Regions from separate parts of the Homo sapiens genome. Here region 1 is linked to region 2. The links are contacts of gene promoters, found by promoter capture Hi-C in blood cells and fetal thymus (Javierre and others, 2016). All regions are on one chromosome and are shown on one strand. Each heading gives the region's core, a stretch centred on a gene start or on the middle of the fragment in contact. The rest is flanking DNA. Distances are from core to core; before and after follow the strand shown.

Evidence for each region. Contacts are between HindIII fragments. The CHiCAGO score rates a contact against its expected background, and 5 or more counts as called.
Region 1: the fragment with the promoter of SOX8 here is called in contact with the fragment with the promoter of CACNA1H in region 2 in 1 of 17 cell types (erythroblasts); the score reaches 6.6 in erythroblasts.

What each region holds. Positions count from the first base shown.
Region 1 is chr16:980,156-983,295 of GRCh38, reverse strand. SOX8 (SRY-box transcription factor 8) reads right to left here and starts at 1,526. Exons shown (of 3, transcript NM_014587.5): 1 at 952-1,526. The coding sequence starts at 1,373. It overlaps CEROX1 (cytoplasmic endogenous regulator of oxidative phosphorylation 1), which reads left to right and starts at 1,683. Exons shown (of 3, transcript NR_164343.1): 1 at 1,683-3,140. It also overlaps a transcript of LMF1 not described here. The HindIII fragment of the contact is 6,393 bases long and covers 1-3,140 here.
Region 2 is chr16:1,151,246-1,154,495 of GRCh38, reverse strand. It overlaps CACNA1H (calcium voltage-gated channel subunit alpha1 H), which reads right to left and starts at 1,390. Exons shown (of 35, transcript NM_021098.3): 1 at 1,026-1,390; 2 at 460-776. The coding sequence starts at 758. RefSeq lists enhancers at 1-536, 1,911-2,491. The HindIII fragment of the contact is 9,021 bases long and covers 1-3,250 here.

The DNA.
Region 1 (3,140 bases), core at 277-2,776, 170 kb after region 2:
AGCCCTGGCAGGGCCCAGGCGCCCGTCCTCACTGAGCCACAGGACACACTCCTTGGGACTCTTCCCGAGGCTCACCTCCAACCGCCTGTGCGGCAGGACTTGGGGGAGCAGGGGCCTGCCGTCCACAGCGCCCCGTGGCTGCGCCCTAGATCCAGACAGAAGGCAGGAGGTGCAAATACGCAAGCTCCAAGCTCCCTTCTTCCAGGTGAGGAGCAGGATACGGGAACCAGAGCCCCAAACCAAGAGAACCATTTGAAACCCAACCAGAGGACACTCGGTGGGGGCGGCCTGTCCTGAGCAACAAGTTCTTCACTCTGCAGTCCTAATTTCTGGAAAACTGACCGGCCCCACCACGCCAAGGCGTGCACACGGCGCACCCCGTCATCTCCACTCCTGCCCTCCCTGCTTCGGACCGAGGGTGTCCAGGAGAGGGAGAAACTGCGGGGAGGGTACTCGCAGGCAAACCTGCTGCCCACCCATCCGCCTGCCGCACTCCCTCCCCATGGGTGGTCCAGGAGCTAGAGGAGCTGAGCCCTTTCTAAGGAGGGAGCACCTCCAGAGAGCCGCATGCAACTTGCTGTCGTGCCGGGCGTGCCTCCCGGGGCTGGGGCCACTCGCAACGGCTGGAGGGCACGTCGGGGTGCCAGCCATGGCCCTCCGCAGGGTGTTCCCCGCCAGGAGAACTGGCTCCAGAGCGCACCCGCCACGAGGGTGCACACCCCAGGCGCTGCCCTCCGCGGATCCCGACTCCCATAGCTGGCGCCGGACCCCGGCTGGCCAGAGGATGTTTTTCCACTGGGACCCGCCCTGACACCCGCCCGGGGTGCAGAGCCCGGAGCCTGCGTGTGGCCACCACCTCCGCGAGCTCTGCGCCCTCCAGGCCCCCGCTCGCAGTCCGAGACCAGGGGCGGCCAAGGTCCCGAACCCCGCCCCCGGGGCGCCGGCACTCACCGCCACAGCTTGCCCAGCGTCTTGCTGAGCTCGGCGTTGTGCAGGTGCGGGTACTGGTCGGCCAGCTTGCGGCGCGCCGCCTGCGCCCACACCATGAATGCGTTCATGGGCCGCTTCACATGCGGCTTGGCTTTGAGCGCGCCGCCGCCGCCGCCGCGCACCGGCATGGGCACCAGACTCCAGTCGTAGCCCTTGAGCACCTGCGACACGGCGTCGCGGATGCAGGCCGGGAAGCGCTCGTCCGCCGCCTCCGCCGGGTCGCCCCGGGCGCCCCCCACCGCGACCCCCGCGCGGCCCAGGCCCTCGGAGCCGGCGGGAGACGGCGGCGCGTCCGAGTCCGAGTCCTCCACGTGCGACATGGAGCTGGCGGTGCCGGACGGGCTGCAGGGCGGCTGGGAGCGGGCCTCGCTCATGTCCAGCATCGGGGCCGCGCGCGGAGGGGCGCGCACAGGAGACGCGCACCGGGGCCGGCGCCCGGGGCTGCCCTGCGGTCGCTCCGGGACCCGAGGTCGCCGCGCGGTGGCCCCGACCCTCGCCCCTGCCGCCGCCGCCGCCGCCGCCGAGGCTCGGGTCCCGCTGCGGGACCCGCAACAAGTTTCTTTAAGCGGCGGCCCCGCGGCCCCGCCCCGCGCCCGGCTACCCATTGGCGGAGCGCGCCCCGATCCCCCGGAGGCGGAGCCCGGCCGCCCCCGCCCCCCCACCCATAAAGAAAGCTCCGCGGCTCTCGCCGCGCCCCCGCCTGCCCCGCCCGGCGCCGCACCACGTGGGCCAGGCGCCCCACGCCTGGAGCTCCCCTCTCTGGAGCCCCGGGAAAGGAAGCGGGGCAGGGAGGCCGGGTGGGAGCAGGGGGGTCTCCGGCGCTTCCTCTCCTCTGCGGGCGCCGCGCGGCTCCTGAGAGTCCGCCCCCCGTCCTGACGCTCAGCTAGGAAGCGGGTCCTCGGGCCCCTCCCCCGACACACACACACACACACACACACACACACACACACACACACACTCTCTCTCTCTCTCTCTCTCTCTCTCTCTCTCTCTCTCTCTCTCACACACACACACACACACACAGCCCGTCTCGCGCCTGAGGTCTCGCCCGCAGGCCGGTGGCGCGGGGTCAGCTGCTGCCTGCGGTCCAGGACAGGGTCGGTTCCGCCGCGCAGCGCCCAGGCCCAGCTCGTCCAGAGTCTGCGGACAGCGCACGTCCAGGTAACGCGCTTCAAGGGGCCGCGGCTCGGAGCTGGGGGACCCCGGGCCGCCCTGCCCATACGAGTGCGAGCGTGGAGAGCGCGGGCGGGGGCGCGGTCCCGGGGGCCGGCCAGCTGGAGGGGGCGGGAGCGCTGGGCGGGGCCTGCGCTGACCCCGGCGCTGAGTCCCTGGGGCCGCCGGGCGGATGGCGTGGCCGGACGCGGGGGCCCCGGGCCTTCCGGGCGTGACCTAGGGCTCGGGGGCGGGGAGGCCCCTCCGGCGGGGCGGCCCTGGGTGGTCCGGCAGAGGCGGAGGCCGCTCCGAGCCTGTGAGCCCTGGGCGCCTGCGGAGGCGGGGAGAGGGCGGGGTGTGCCGCCCTGGTGGGGACCGCGGGGTCGGAGAGGGGACATTGCCCCCCCCGAGGCGAACGTCCAACCGCGGGTCCGGGTCCCCGCCCAAGGCCGCCCCGCGAGGTGGCCTCGGCCCGGCCGTCCCCGAGGGTGGCTCGGATCCTTTCAACCAGCGCGCTGGAGGCGAAGGGGCTGCGCCATTCCGGGTCAGGCAGCCAACGCGGGACACGCGCGTCTCCGAGCTTGCGGCCCGCGAAACCCGGGTGACCTACCGCGCCGGTGCCCTCAAAGCCCCCACGCCCGGGCCGGTGGCCGCTGCAGCCACTGAGCCACGCGGTCTCCCCGGCCCGGTCGGCAGAAGGAGCTGGTCCGTTACTAGAAAAGTCCAGATGCAAAGTCGGGGGTCGTGCTGCCGCTTCCTGCCAGCGCACCGCACCCACCTGGGGCCGCCACCGACCGCACAGGACGCGCCTCCTACCCCCTGTTCTGGCCCGGCCGAGAGCTGGTGCCCCCAGCGGCCGCCCGCCCCCGTCCGCAGACCCCGGGGCCCTTGCTGCTTTGCATTGGGAACAACCGGAGCCAGGCCCGGAGCTGAGGGGGCCAGGGCCTTTGGAGGAAGCATTGGCCTCCAGGCTGAAGAGCAAGGGCCGTGTCACCTGC
Region 2 (3,250 bases), core at 141-2,640:
TGAAAACTTTGCGCCCCTGACTCCAGCTCCTCTGGCCTCCCCCTCCCCCGCGAGGGGCCTGCCTCGGGCAGGACCTTCAGACAGTGAGGGGTGGGCAAGGGGGAAATTCCCGTCCTGGCCAACACCCTTGGGGCCGCGAGGAGTTAGGACCTTCCCTCCCTCCCCGACTCCTCTCCCCTCCAAGCCCGCGGGGGCCTCACCGCTTCGCTTCCACCTTCTCCGTCCGGAGCCGGCCCTGGGGAAGGGAGTCCGGAGGCGCCCGGTGGCCCCCCAAGCCCGCCACTCTCAGAAATTAGAGCGCGGTCCTCCAGCCCCTGCCCTGCACCCCCGCGCGCCCGGCCCACGCCAGGTCCCACCAACAGGGGCGCGCGGGGGCGCATGCCGAGGGAGTCCCGCGCCCCGGGCCCCCACCCTCCCCACGCCCCCCGCCCCCCGCCCCCCGCCGGCCGGGAAGGATATGGGTTGCAGACCAGCCGGAGGCACCAGCTGCGCGGCCGCGTGGTCTGACCGAGGCAGAAGAAGACCGTGGCCGCCAAGGCCGGGTACGGGACGCGCTGCTCCTCGTCGGCACCCAGCTCCGCGCCGCGCTCGGCCGCCGGGCTCTCGGAGGGTGACACGCCGAGCTCGGACCCCCGCTCCGCCTCGCGTCCCGGCGCCCCGGGGCTCTCCGGGGACGCCCCCACCAACGCCGCAGGGCCAGGGGGCGGCGCGCCCAGGGGCACCCGGACCTCGTCGGCGGCCCGTGCGCCCTCGGTCATGGTGGCGGCCGGCAGCACCTGCAGAGGACAGGGGGTGACCCGGGGCCGGTGGCGACGCCCCCGCCCTGCCTCCCGCGGCGCGGAGCTGCGGGAACAGCCGCGGCCGCCGGGATGTCTTTGTCTTTTCTTATTAGAGACAAACGCGCCCCCCGCCCCCGCCCGCCCCCTCCCTCCCTCCAGCGGCCCCACCCCCACCCCGAGGGGCTCCCCGGCCCGCTTCGCGCAAGTTGAAGAGGGTCCCGGGCGCGCGTCCTCGCCGCGTCTCACCTCGCTCTGCTGGCCGGCGGCGTCCCCGCGGGCATCGCCCGGGCGGCGCGGTCACCGCGGACCCCGCTCGGCGCCCGGCCCCGGCCCCGGCCCCCAGCGCCTCCGCCCCCGGCCCCGGCCCCGGCCCCCAGCGCCTCCGCCCCCGGCCCGCGTCCCCAGCCCGCCCGGCTCCCGGCCGCGGCTCGACTCCGGCTCCGGCTCGCCCGGCGGAGGCGACGGCGGCGGCCTCGGCGCGGCGTGGAGGCCGCTGAGCGGACGGGTGAGGCCGGGGCGCGGGGCGCGGGGCGCGGGGCGCGGGCCGGGGACCGGTGAGGCAGCGAGCGAGCCTCGAGCCCGTCCGCGCGCGGCGCAGGAAACTTCGGGCTGAGCGGCGGGGGGCGGGGCGGGGCGGGGCCGGCGCGACCGGGGCGGGGCCAGCGTGGCCGGGGCGGGGCCGGGGGCGGGGCGGGCGGGGGGGTACTGGGGAGGATCCGCCCCCGGCCCGAGACGCGCGCGCCCGAGCGACCCCTCCCTGTCGCCGCCCGGCGCCCCGCCCCCCCCCGGGTGCGGGAAGTTGGACCCCGCCCGCGCCCCCTCCACGCCCCCGCACTGGGCTCCCCGCTTTTCGTGCTCCCCAACAATGCCGGGCGTGGGGTGCACCAGGGGGCGCTCGCGGGAGGCTCCGGCGGGGTGGGAGGGGGAGCACCTACGTCCTTCCCTGCCCCCAACTGCGGGGGCGGCCGAGCCGCCGATGCCGCGCCCCTCCCCCTCCCGCTCCGGCTCCCCCTCCCCCTTCGCGCTGCCGCGCGCGCCGCCGCCGCCCCCACCCCCACCCCCACTACGACGCGGGCCCGGGTCGGCGGAGGGGCGGGGACCGGGCGGGCGTGGAAGGCGAGAGGCTGCGTGCCCCTTCCCCGCCGCGTGTGTGTCCCGGGTGTGCCCGCGCGCGCGTGTGTGATGGGGCGCGGGGGCGGGCGGGGGTGTGCTTTACGGCTGGGCGCTCCTGCACTCGCATCTCTCCCCGACACGCACGGGCAGTTTCCGCGAACTTGTCCTCGTCTCCGGTCCCCTCCCGCGTGGGGATCTGGGGGACCCTGGGGACGGCAGCCTGGTGCTCCTGCATCCTCCAACCCCGCTGCCTCAGCGAGACTCACCCAGGGGCCCCCGAGGAGAAGTGCAGGCCCCTTCCCCCTGCCAGCAGCTGCTCCTTCAGCCAGGCCAGCAGAAGGGCCTTCCCCTGGACCCTCAGAGCAAGTGGTTTGGTCGGGAAGGGGTGGACCCTTCAGACATTGGGGATGGCCAGGCCCTTGTCCCAGGGAGGGCTGGCCGCACCTCGAGGTGCCAGCAGGTGGGGGCAGGTGCCCAGGCTCCTGACTCCCCCCAGGGCACCCCTCCAGGCTGGAAGGGTGGTTTTGCTTCTGGGACCACTGCTTTGTGCACCAGGGAGCTTGAGCTCCCAGGTGTGCACCTCAGCACGCCCGCCAACAAGGGGCCCCTGGTAGTGGGAGAGACCCCTTCTCCCTCCAGACAAAGAGGCCCTGCTCCAGGGCGCACCCTGAGACCCCAGACCCGGAGAGGCTGTGGGGCGGCTGTGGCTTCCCACCTGCGGGTGAGCAGCAGAGAAGCAGGACCTCCCCCGGGTGGGCCACATCGTGCAGGGTGAAGAAGAGGCCCTGCCCAGCTGGGGCCCGGAAGGACACACAGCACCTGGGGTGGGCCGAGGAACTGGAAGGCAGGAGTGTGGGGGCCTGGCTGGGGTACAGGTCCTTTCAGCAGCACCTCCTCCTGTATACGGGAACTTTCAAGAAAAGGAAAACATTCAGTCTATTTTAATGCAACTACTCAGCGATGGAGGGCCACAGCTGGTGAATTAGGCCTTCAAAGGTCCAATTAAGGTTCCAGCCACAGAGGAGCAGGACCTAGGAGAGCCCCGTGCTTTGGACACATCCGTGGAGGGAGGCTGGAGCAGGTGGGGAGACACAAACGCTGAATCGGAGTCCGGTCCAGAGGGCACTTGGAACCTCTGATCTTTTTATCAACACCCTGCTCGTTAAAAGTTAGGGTGGGCCAGGTGCAGTGGCTCACGCCTGTAATCCCAGCACTTTGGGAGGCCGAGGTGTGTGGATCACTTGAGGTCAGGAGTTCGAGACCAGCCTGACCAACATGGTGAAATCCCGTCTCTACTAAAATACAAAAATTAGCCAGGCATGGTGACATATGCCTGTAATCCCCGCTACTCGGGATGC